Regions from separate parts of the Homo sapiens genome. Here regions 1 and 2 are each linked to region 3. Evidence: promoter capture Hi-C in 16 types of primary human blood cells and fetal thymus (Javierre and others, 2016). All regions are on one chromosome and are shown on one strand. The core of a region is centred on a gene start or on the middle of the fragment in contact, and the rest is flanking DNA. Distances in the headings are between cores, read along the strand shown. Region 1 has its middle 14 kb from the start of AKR1E2. Region 2 overlaps AKR1E2 (aldo-keto reductase family 1 member E2). Region 3 holds the start of TASOR2 (transcription activation suppressor family member 2).

Region 1 (3,971 bases), core at 328-2,827, 870 kb after region 3:
TAACTAGAATGTGTTGATAATGTGCAACTTGTAAAATCTTATAAGATACAATTTTTGTTTAAGGCAATGTTTGTTTACCTTTTTTTTTTTTTTTTTTCCTGAGACAGAGTCCTGCTCTGTTGACCAACCTGGAGTGTAGTGATGGGAGCTCTGCTCACTGCAACCTCTGCCTCCCGGTTTAAGCCTTTCTCGTGCCTCAGCCTCCCGAGTAGCTGGGATTACAGGAGCATGCCACCAAGCCTGGCTAATTTTTGTATTTTTAGTAGAGACGGGGTTTCACCATGTTGGTCAGCCTTGTCTCAAACTCCTGACCTCAAGTGATCCACCTGCCTTGGCCTCCCAAAGTGCTGGGATTTCAGGCGTGAGCCACTGTGCCCGGCTGGTTTACCGTATTTTTTAATACACTAATATGTGTTAGCCTCAAAGACCTAGTTTCTTCTATAAAGTTTATAAACCAGGCTTCATGATTTTAGGGGAGATGACTTTTTAGAATATCTAAAAGGAGATGTTTCATTTTTTAAACCAAAATTTAGAAGCAGAAGCTACCTGGCACTAGTGTCCTTTTATCCATCATGAAAGTCTAGTCCCTTTGGTAGGGGACAAATGGATGCTTGTGGCTCAAGAGAAAGTAAACCCTGAGAAAGAGTTACTGAGTTAGAGTATGGTTTCAGATAAAAACGGTGATTAACTTCAGAAGATTTTTTTTATAATTATGGAACTCCAGACTAAACATTCTTAGGGTTTCTGGTCCAAAAGAGCTTCATTAAAAAAATATATATATATATACTTGGACATTCCACTGATCGCCGCTGTTTCAGGTGGGGTCATTTTAAGCTGTTAGTCATCTCTGGACCAGTCGCTGTGATCATTCCAAATGATTTCCCCCTTGAATTTCAATGACATCTATGCTGGGCTCAAGGGCTCATGCCTGTAATGCCAGCACTTTGAGAGGCCAAGGTGGGTTGATCACTTGAGACCAGGAGTTTGAGACCAGCCTGGCCAACGTGGCAAAATCCTGTCTCTACTAAAAATACAAAAAAAAAAAAATTAGCTGGGCACGTTGGCTCATGCCTGTAATCCCAGCTACTCTGGAGACTGAAGCACGAGAATTGCTTGAACCCAGGAGGCAGAGGTTACAATGAACCGAGATGACACCACTGCACTCCAGCCTGGGCAACAGAGTAAGACTGTCAAAAAAAAAAAAAAAAAGAAGAAGTCAATGACATTTGGCTTATGTATGCAACTCATACAGTGCTGACTTTAAACAGCCAGTACAGTAGGAGAAAGGGAACGACCCCCAAGAACTAGAGAAGAATCATCATCGCATAGGAGTTAAGCACATAAGCCCCATGTGTAACGGACCAGGTCAGGTGCTTGCTGAGTCACCAGTGATGCATCTGGAGATGTGTGACTCCCTGCAGCATCAAAGCAACTCCTGGGAAGTCTCACGGAGGCAGAAGAGAGACTCAGTTATAAATGCAAATGCTAAATCTGGCCGGCTGTACTGCCTATGTGAAGACCATATTAAAATAACCAGGCAACTTTTTTGATGTTAATTTAATAATAACAGCTATGCAAAATACTTAAAAACCAACTGTTTCAATTCAAGCAAGTCCCACTTCCACCCTAGGGGTGGGGTATTCTTTTTAACCCGACTTTCATGATGGATAAACCAAGGCACAGAGAAGTTCAGTAACTTTTCCAGGACTCCAGTCTCGTAAGTGACAGGGAGGACGGACTCCTGGGTCCACCCTGGCATAGAAGCATACTGTGTTATCTGTGTAACGGCCCGCCTGCCGGTGCTGCAAGCTCCCGAGGATGGGAAATGTGTGTTACCTTTCCACCGGAGGCCCAGCACCTTCATCACTGCTGCTTTCCTAGCACAGTGTGTTTGTTGGTGTGGAGGAGTGTTTAGAAGGCAGGAATTTGCTCTTTTTTTTTTACATAGCACTGCCCTGGAGACAGGGACCAGATCTTCAAGAGGGAACATTATTTATTCATCATCGATTATGGTTGCAGTGTGAAACAGAAAGAATACAGACACAAAATACACAGTACCTGCTCTCACAGGCCTCACATCTTCTTAAGATGACAGAGTGATATTAATTTTAAGATAAAATTCTTATTTAAAGGCTGGCTTCCATATTAATCCTAAATGAGTGTGGGCTTCATATTGGAGTTTCAAAATACAGGAATCAAAAGCTGATAGAACTGAAAAGGGGAAATAAGTCTGCAATTCTAGCTAGAGATTTCAACACAGTAATGGATAGAATCAGTGCCTAGACAATCTGTGGAAAGACAGAAGAGCTGGACAACTCTACCCTGCCCGGGACATTAGTGACCACACCCAATTGAAGCAAATACACATTCTGCTCACAGGCATTTGGGACATTCACCAAGAGAGAAGAGAACACATTCTGGGCCATAAAATGAATGTGTGTTGGAAAGGATGGAAATTCTGCCACATTCGCACCCCCAGCTGCAAAGCCTCTCTCTGGGTGCAGATGGAGAGAACAAGCCTGCTGTTGGGGTGACAGGCAGCACCTGTGTGCAATTGTACAGGCCTGCACTAAACAATCTCAGAGTGTGCAGGAGAGGAGAAGGTGGTGAGACATGTGGAAGGGGAGCCATCAGCAGGACACAACTCCTTGCAGCAACTGTGGGGCTCAAGAGAGGAGTAACAGCCAGGAATATTCACTGGTTCCTGGCTTGGGTAATGGTGTGGGTTATGATTTAATTCACTAATCATAAAAGTGCAAGGCAAGAGGAAAGATTTGGAATGAGTCTGTGCATCTGTGTCATTGTGTGTGTGTCCATGAGTTTGTGTGTGTTTGTGTGTGTCTCTGTGTGTCTGAGGGTGTCTGTGTGTCTGTGCATGTGTTGGTGTGTGTGTGTATGTGTGTGTCTGTATTTCTGTGCATGTCTGTGTATGAATGTGTGTGTCTGAGTGTGAGTGCATTTGTGTGTGTATAAGTGTGTGTGATTAGTTCAGATTTTCTGTCTTATCTATTGGAGAGAATACCAATTTGAACACAAGTGAGATAGCTCTCCTAGATAAATGGATGTCCAGGTCAAGCGCATTCAGGCGGTGGACAGGCCCAAAGTTGTGAGTGGAGAGTGGGGAGGAAGAAGTGATGGGAGAGGGTCCTGAACACCTCCATTAACAAGGACACTGATGGATGGGCAGAAGCTGAGACCATGAAGCTTGTACTGCAGAACTAGGAAAGGAGAACCCAGTGGAAGGAGTTTGGCAGGCATTACTGGTCGTCCACTCAACAAGCATTGCTCCTCCATCCACACTGGCAGAACCTGGCCACCCCTTTCTTCGTGAATCAGGACAGTCCTGATGAGCGTAAGCCTGTCCTGTGGTCCCCTTCCCTATTGGATTGAATCATTTAGAGGGGGGAATGGCTCCTAAGCCCAAATAGGACTTTTTCTACTTAGGAACTCATAAGCTAAGGGGAGTCTTTTCTTTTTAGGCTGTGAATCATTTATGCTGGGACAAGAGGCTGCCGAAGGATTCCTAGAAAATTTTTTCAGGTTCTCAAAGCTGGGGAAGAAACAATTTCCTTGCATTTGGTGGACAGTGATGTGTCTGGTTTTGCTCTTTCCAAACACAGGTACTCTCACACTGTCACATGTCACACACATGCACACAGCACTCTCTGTTTCTATTTCTCTCTATTACTCTTCCTCCCTCCTTCCCTCTTTCTCTTCCTTCCAACTTCCTATGCCTTCTCTCAAACACACACACACACACACACACACACACACACACACCACGAAAGCTCGAGTGGATCGAGCCCCCAAATCAGCATAACATCTGAACATGGCCACATTGAAAAAGGCAGCAGTAGCGCCTTGATGATGTGGGCCCTGATGATGAATTAATCTTGGGGACTCCAGATATTGGGAGCTCTTGTTGCCAAGTGTGGCTAGTTTGCCTGAGATAATAAAATTTCCTTATAGAG
Region 2 (3,124 bases), core at 625-3,124, 850 kb after region 3:
TTTAATAAAAAAATAAATAAATATTTGAGAAAAAAAGTGAGGTCTATAATGAGCTACCCCTCAAATGTGTCAAGAGAACTGCACCATACCAAACCAAAGGTAACAAGAAAGTCACTGAGGTCTCTGAGTTCTTCGGGTATTGATTCCTTTTTTGCTCCACAAACCCCACATCTCAGGTAGACAACCTTGATGTCTTTGAACACAAGCAGCTCAGGGCTCACTGCATCCTGGGTGGAGACCCACACAGGATGAGGCTGCCTGGTGGTGTGGCTCAGCTCACCTCCCACGTGTCCAGGAAGTCCGTGTCACTGGGAATAACCATGTTGCTCTCGTCCAGAGGCAAGTCCTGCACTCGAGGATGTGAGAGGCAGAAGGAAAGTTCACTGCAGCTCATGATCCATTCTGGATGAGGAGGCTGCGAAGAAGGAGAGTTGAGATGTGTGAAAACAAAACAAAACAAAACAAAAAAAACCATGTGTCAGGAGACCTGCATCCAAGCCACAGCCCTGTCACTAAGCAACCCCAGCCTGGCCATGTGACCAGGCCCAGTCTTCACCTTTCTAAGAAAAGATGAATGGCTGGTGGACTGGATGGCTGGCAAAGCCTCTGCCAGCCTGATGTTCACTGTTCATCTCTCACAAGATGGGAAAGGAAGACCCTGTATCCTTACTGATGCAAGGTTGTCCTCTCCCATTGCCTCCAGAAAATAGTTTACTAATTTCGGGTAAAGAATGGGTGAGGAGTGCATTTTCTTCATGTCTTATAGAGCCCAATCAACCCTCTCCTAACTCCACTGTTAGGGTCTTGTCTTCTTTCTTAGAATCCCCATCATGATGACAGGTAAGGAAGTGAGAATACAAAGGTACACAGGAGGTAGAGGGCAGAGAGATACATCTTGAAAGGGCAAGAACCTAAAGTCATCTTTCAGAGAAGCACTGACGTGCAATCCAGCTACCTCCCTCATGTACTCCCACGTAGCATGTTAAGGGTGAATGGCATAGGCATGTTTATTTAATGACACCTAATCACACTCCTAAACAACAGTGGAAGAATGTCACATGTTCCAGCCTGATACACATGAAAGAGGCATTTTCCATGATGAGCTGAAGTAACTAACAGTCTCACTTTAAAGCCACATCCCATGTTGCCATTTATCCAAGCCTCCACAAAATTGCAGCCCGGGACTCATACTCGGACCCTGATCTAATTGTCCAGCATCACACAAGGCCTAGCAGTTCCTACTGGCCAGAAGACATGCTGACGATGCTGCATTATTCTCTTCTGTAATTTGTTGGATGATCTGAGACCTTTTCCTTTTCTACGACCCAGAAATCCAAAGACAGGAATCTGCTAAAGGATGAGGGCAAGGAAAGTGTAACAAATGTCTGACCTGAGCATATGCTTCTGGGCTCCAATAATCTAACTTAAACCTTAAACTTTCTGTATCTTAGTTTCATCATCTCTCCAAGAGGGATGTTAATAGTGTCAACTTTGTAGAACTGTCATGAGAATTAAATGAGTTAATATGTGTAAAGTACCTAACATAGTTCTGGGTACATAATTACAACAATGCTGGCTGGCAATGAGTGTAATACAGCTGTAGCCATTGTTTTAATTATGATTTTCTGCATGCAATGAATTTCAAGGCACAGACATCACTCTGGTTTTGCCCTCTGGGTATCTTCCCCTCTTAGTCAGTGTCACTAACGGACAGCTGCCCACATCGTTTATGGAAACTAGATACAAAGCCTTAGTTAAGTAAAGCTGTGCTAGGAATGAAGTGTTTTTTGTTATTTTACTCTAAAACAGTAACCAACAGTGTGGCACACATAAAGGGACCTTCTCACAGGTTGGTATGTAGAAGACTGCTGAGCAGCAGTCACCCATTCCATTGTAGGAAGAACATCCCTGCAAGGGCTTCTGTATTTCACAGGTGTCAACTGTGTGATCAGGCCCTTGCCCAGGCAGGCTGTCATCACAGCCCAGGGCAAATATGCAGGGACATCCTGGCCAGGACCCGTGTGAGGCAGAAGCAGGTTGCCTAGAGTAGGGAAGTTGCACGGCCAGACTGGGGTAGCTTAGTGACAGAGCCATGGCTCAGATGCATGCTCCAGACACACTGTGAAGCAATTAAGAGAATAAAACCAAGTGGAAAAGTCAACTACCAGCACAACCCACTGGACCCTGCTGCAGGTGAACAAGCAAATATCTCCCATATTGCAAAACAGCATTTACTCCCCAAAGAGAACAGAACCTGCAAGAAGAGACAAGGCCTAGGAATTCACTGGGAACTTTCTCTGAGCAGCAGTATTTCCTCATCTGATCACTGCTTTCACCTAAAAACCTAAGGGAAAAAAATCTACTGCTCTCTTGGCTTGGAAAAAAAGCGACTGGCTTGAAAGACAGACCTGTGGGGGCCTCAGAGGTCAAGCCAAGCCTCTCCTTAACTGAGGCCCAGAGATATCAAGAGGACTGCCCAAATGCCGCAGCTAGCATGTGGCAGATGCAGCCTGGGAACCCCTGCCCTGAATGCTGGTCCATGCTCTCCCCACCGCAAGACAGGGTGTGAGCACGGGGAGGAAGGTCCTGCAAACTGCAGAACGAACTACCTACTGAACGGTACCTTGAAACCCATGGGCCAGTGTATGAGGTAGAGGTCCAAATAGTTCAGCTTCAAGGCCTTGAGACTCTTTCTGCATGCTGTTTCCACCAAGGACTTCTTATGGCAGGTGCACCACAGCTACAAAGGAGAGGGGACCAGCGTCACACGTGCCCACCCAGAGCCAGCATGGCACCCATTCTGTAGCCCCACAAAGCTACTGTCTTGAACCCAAAATAGCCAAGATGAGATGACCACAAATACAACACGGCAAGTTCTGATGGGAGGACAGGGACATTATCCTCAGAAGAGTTCCAGGACACCTGCAGGGAGAGGCTCCAAAGCTGGGATCCTTCTGCCTGACTCCTCCTCAAGGGAAGCTCAGGAATCCAAGAGATATTTGATGGTTATTTGGATTCATTGGGACCAAAAACAAAAACGAAAATGAAATTCCTGCAGGCAGAAAAGATATGACGAAAAATCAGAAGAATCTCTATCTTGTGTTTCTCACTTACACAGACTCCG
Region 3 (4,544 bases), core at 467-2,966:
TCTACAGAAATACTATCATGACCACCTGAAGCACTGTTTATAACAGCAAGAGATAATCACTGCAGTATTGTCAGTTATAGGGATATCTTGAAAATAACTTGAATGTCTACCAACAGAAAAATGAAATTCACTTGATAAATACATGCCATATTGATCTATTTTTACTGAATAGATAGTATACTGTATTTAACAAACACCATGTCTCAGTCAAGTTCTTAGGCACTTCACCGATTTTAACCCATTTTAACAACTATGTTTGGACCACAGGAGATGCTTATAATCTCCCTTTAAAAAAATTAGTTACATTTGGGCAAATGTTCTGTATACACAAAACTTCAAATATACCGTCTTGGTCTTCCTTAACATAATTGTGGACCTTTTGTCACCCTTTTTCTGGCCTGGCTTAGTTATTTATTGATGTACAGTACAGGACATACCGCATACAGTCACCCATTCCTATAAGGCAGTTTTTCGACAGAAGGGTATTCTTGCACCGTTAGGGGACACTGCTTTGCTATAAACCTCCTAGGCAGGATTACCGCCAGGCTCACCCCTAGTTTTATTCAGGGAACACTGTAGACTCTAGGATCGCGAATGCCATTCCAATAATACCATACACTTGTACGCCACATATTTAAGTTTTGGATACACTTTCATAAACTTTTCTATTCTAATTGTACCTTACAGGGAGAATAAGGAAGAGTAAGCGTGGTTTGTTTAAAGTTACAGATTTCAAATAGACAAGAAGCGACTAAGAGAAACTTGAGAATTCCCAAAGTAATCTTCCTCAAAATTTCAGTCATCAACCCAGTTCTCCCACGAAACGCTGCTTGGCGCCGCCTTCAGACAAACTTCTGTGTTGCTCGCACCAAGTTATCCCAACGCGGCTTGCGCTTGCTGCTGAAATGACCCTCCCTTCGGAGAGACCTGTTTTACCCTAAAAAGAAAAGGTGGCGCATTGCCATGAAGTCTCGAGTAGCAGCAGGCTTCACGCAGAACCCGCAGGAAATGATTTCCCAGCCGGTGCAAACCCGAAGACGGAAACTTCAGCCAAGAACTTATCAGCATATCCCTGAGGACGCAGCTGTCCCCTGACAGGCGACGCAAACGAAACGCCTCAGAAAGGGGCAAGATGACACGGTTAGGATCTCCCTGCCGGCGACACCGAGCGCGGCCACAGGTTGTAGCGCAGGACAGAAGGTTGAGTCATCTAGAAGGCGCCGACCCCTCCCACCCCCTCACCCGGAGCGCGGCAAAAGGCAAGGAGAACGCGTCGACCCTCGCAGCCAAGCCCCGGCAGCTGCCCGAGCGCTCGGCCTCGGGGACCCGCCGTCCTCCTCGCAGGGTTCCCGGGCGCCCAGGCCGAGGAGGGACTTACCCGTCCTTGGCGTGGCCGCCGCCCCCGAGGACCTGAGATCCCGGCTCGGCCTCCTTCCCATGCTTCTCCCGGCCGTGCTCTGCGTCCTCCCGGGCCCTCGCGACACCGGCGCACGTGGGAAGCACCAGTCGCCGGCTCCGCGCTCCCGCGGGGACCCCCCTCAGGGGCACGCCGTCCGCCCCAGCCCCGGGGTCCTCGCCGCGGGCGCTGACAGGGACGCCGCGGCCGCCCGCGCTCTGTCTCCCGTCAGGGTCACGGGCAAGAGGCAACCCCGGGACGCCCGGCAGCCTGCGAGAACATGCCGACTTTCTCTCTGACCGGCGCTAGCAACCGGAAGCAAAACCTCGCGGCCAAAGGAAAAGAAAAGGGGAGGGGGGGGCAAAAAAAGAAAGTGAAAACTGAAGTGAGGCGTCTCCCTCAGAGATGGGAACCAATCGCCGGGAAGAAACCAAGGCGCAGGCGCGGACCGAGGTCAGCGTCCACGCGGCGCTCGCGTCTCCCCTCTGCGCAGGCGTAAGGCCACAGCTCGCTCCTGATTAGGCGGCCGATCCCAACGAGCGCGTGGTGTCTCGCGTTGCCGACCCTTGACAGGAGGCGGAAGATGCCCTTGGGAAGAGGCGGGAGACGCTCTCTCGGCTGACCTACAGTGCTGTGGCTGTGGCCCACGTGGTCGCCTTCGGGCGCCTTCTCCCTTCTCAGCGTTTCATTCCCCAGGTGCTGCTGCAAGAACAGTTTATTTGTCTGGCCCGAATGCGACATTTTGGAAATTTTGCCCTTGTTTTAATCCATATAGTAGGTGTGGCTGTTACCCCCTAGGAAAGCATCTCTAGAAATTTATAACACATGCACAGAGAGCTAAGGTGACCATCAATAAATTCAGGTTTACCCTTGCCCATGATAAATAGTCATGCAAACATCATTTAACTGTAGGGACACCTTATGAGAGAGATGCCTCATTAGGCAATTTGGTCCTTGAGTGAACATCACAGAAACCTAGAAGCATAACCTACTACATACTTACACCATAAGCCATAGCCCATTACTCCTGGCTACAAACCCATGCTATATGTTATTGTACTGAATACTGTGGACAATTATAACACAATGGTAAGTATTTGTATAAGCATATCTAGACATAGAAAAGGTACAATAAAAATACAGTATGAAAAATAATGGTACACCTGTGTAAGGCATTCTCACGAATGGACCTTGCAGTACTGGGAGTTGCTCTGGGTGAGTCTGTGAGTGAGCAATGAGAATGTGAAGGTCTGGGACATTACTGTACACTCTTGTAGACTTTATAAACACTGTACACCTAAGCTACACTGAATTTATTTTTTTAAATTTTTTCATAATTAACCTTAGCTTACTGTAACTTTTTAACTTTTTAAAACTTTTAAAAAACTTTTTAAGACTCTTTTGTAATAACACTTAGCTTAAAACAAACACATTGTACACAAATATTTTCTTTATATCCTTAATCTGTAAGTTTTTTTCTATTTAAAAATTTTTTTAATTTACTTTTTAAACTTTTTTGTTAAAAACTAAGACACAAACACACATTAACCTGGGCCTACACAGGGTCAGGATCATCAACATCATTGTCTTCACCTCCATTTTGTCCCACTGGGGGGCTGGGATTACGGTGGAGCCACTGCGCCTGGCCATGTGTGCTGTACTTTTATATGACTGGCAGTGCAGTAGATTCATTTACACCAGCATCACCACAAACATATGAGTAATGTGTTGCTGTACGAAATTAAGATGGCTACGACATCACTAGGCAATAGAACTCTTCAGCTCTATTATAATCATATAAGATCACTGTTGGATATGTGGTCTGTTGTTAACTGAAACATTAAGTGACATATGACTGTACCAATGAGAGAGATTAAGTGCTAATGAACATGTATCATGAGTCAAGCACTGTGCTGGTAATACCAAGAGATTCAGTCATTGTGTTTACTGTTTACTGTAACCAGGTGCTGTAATAGACACTGGTTTTACAATCATGAACAAGCTAGATAAGGACCCTGCCTATAATGGAATTTATTCCAGAGGTGAGTGACAAACACAGGTAAATCACCACGACAAGAAAATAGAATCTCAGATAACAATACATGCTGTGAAAACTCACTGGAAATGCTAGTGGATGGGACTGGGGGCTGGAGGCCAAGGGCAGAAGTAGTGGAGCTACAAGATCTTACTGAAATGGGCACATCTGAGGTCAAACCCTAAAGATCAAAACTGATAGAACCAAAGCTTGGAATACGTGGAGGAAGAGCTTTCCAGGCAGAAGGGAAAGCAAGTGCAAAGGACTTGAGAAGTGAAATGAAACCTATTCAAGAACAGAAGAAGGCTGACTGTGGAAGTAGAGAGTGAAGTACAACAACATTTTAATAGTGCACAAAACCGGAATGTACAACTCCATGATTTATCACAAGGCAAATATTCATGAAACCAACACCCCCATCAAGAAATAGAACATTGCCAGTACCCCATCCCTCTTCCCTAGCCTAAGCACTATTCTGACTTCCATGGTACTCTCTTCTTTGCTTTTAAAAGTAAGTTTGCCAACTAAATATGCACCCTGAAACTTTATCATTTAGTTTGCTTGTGGTTTGAACTGTATATAAAGTGAATAATTTTGTGCCTGCTTGTGAGACTCACTGTGTTTTTGGGTGTACTTGTTCTTTCGTTTTCATTGCTGTATATGTAGGCGTGAATGTAACACATTTGCTTTACCCATTGTATTATTGATGGACATTTGGGCTGTGTCCAGTTCTTGGCTATTATAAATAATACTTTTGTGATCATTCTCATTTACATCTCTTGGTGTACATGGGCACTCATTTCTGTTGGATGAAAACCTAGGATTGGGATTTTGGAATGCTAGACATGATAATTTAGATTTTTGTTTCTGCAAATATTTATGCCCTTATTCCCCACGGTTGGCCAAGTTTCCTTCTCTACTTCATTGACGTTGGGCTTGGTCTAAGAGAGGTCTTTTGGCTGATAGAATATCAGCAGACATGACACAGCAGGATTCTTCAGTGTGCTCGTGCTGTTTGAGTTGGCTCCTGTGCTCAGGTGATTCATATGTGGAGAAAATATCTCGCGTAGCTGTTGTCTCTTCAGCCTGAGTCTCCAGAACAAACCTATGTGG

The links. The method cuts DNA at HindIII sites, captures the fragments that hold promoters and counts their contacts. A CHiCAGO score of 5 or more calls a contact.
Region 1: a fragment that was not itself captured here is called in contact with the fragment with the promoter of TASOR2 in region 3 in 4 of 17 cell types (M1 macrophages, monocytes, M0 macrophages and 1 more); the score reaches 7.3 in M1 macrophages.
Region 2: a fragment that was not itself captured here is called in contact with the fragment with the promoter of TASOR2 in region 3 in 1 of 17 cell types (erythroblasts); the score reaches 6.0 in erythroblasts.

What each region holds. Positions count from the first base shown.
Region 1 is chr10:4,810,559-4,814,529 of GRCh38, reverse strand. No RefSeq gene overlaps it. Among named protein-coding and RNA genes, the nearest start is that of AKR1E2, 14 kb to the left of the region's middle. The HindIII fragment of the contact is 3,258 bases long and covers 1-3,206 here.
Region 2 is chr10:4,832,966-4,836,089 of GRCh38, reverse strand. AKR1E2 (aldo-keto reductase family 1 member E2) reads right to left here. Exons shown (of 10, transcript NM_001040177.3): 3 at 2,624-2,740; 4 at 281-415. Among named protein-coding and RNA genes, the nearest start is that of AKR1E2, 8.3 kb to the right of the region's middle. The HindIII fragment of the contact is 4,627 bases long and covers 1-3,124 here.
Region 3 is chr10:5,682,010-5,686,553 of GRCh38, reverse strand. TASOR2 (transcription activation suppressor family member 2) reads right to left here and starts at 1,716. Exons shown (of 22, transcript NM_001321783.2): 1 at 1,379-1,716. RefSeq lists enhancers at 873-1,052, 1,673-1,782, 1,923-2,162 and silencers at 1,273-1,322, 1,363-1,622. The HindIII fragment of the contact is 4,285 bases long and covers 1-3,642 here.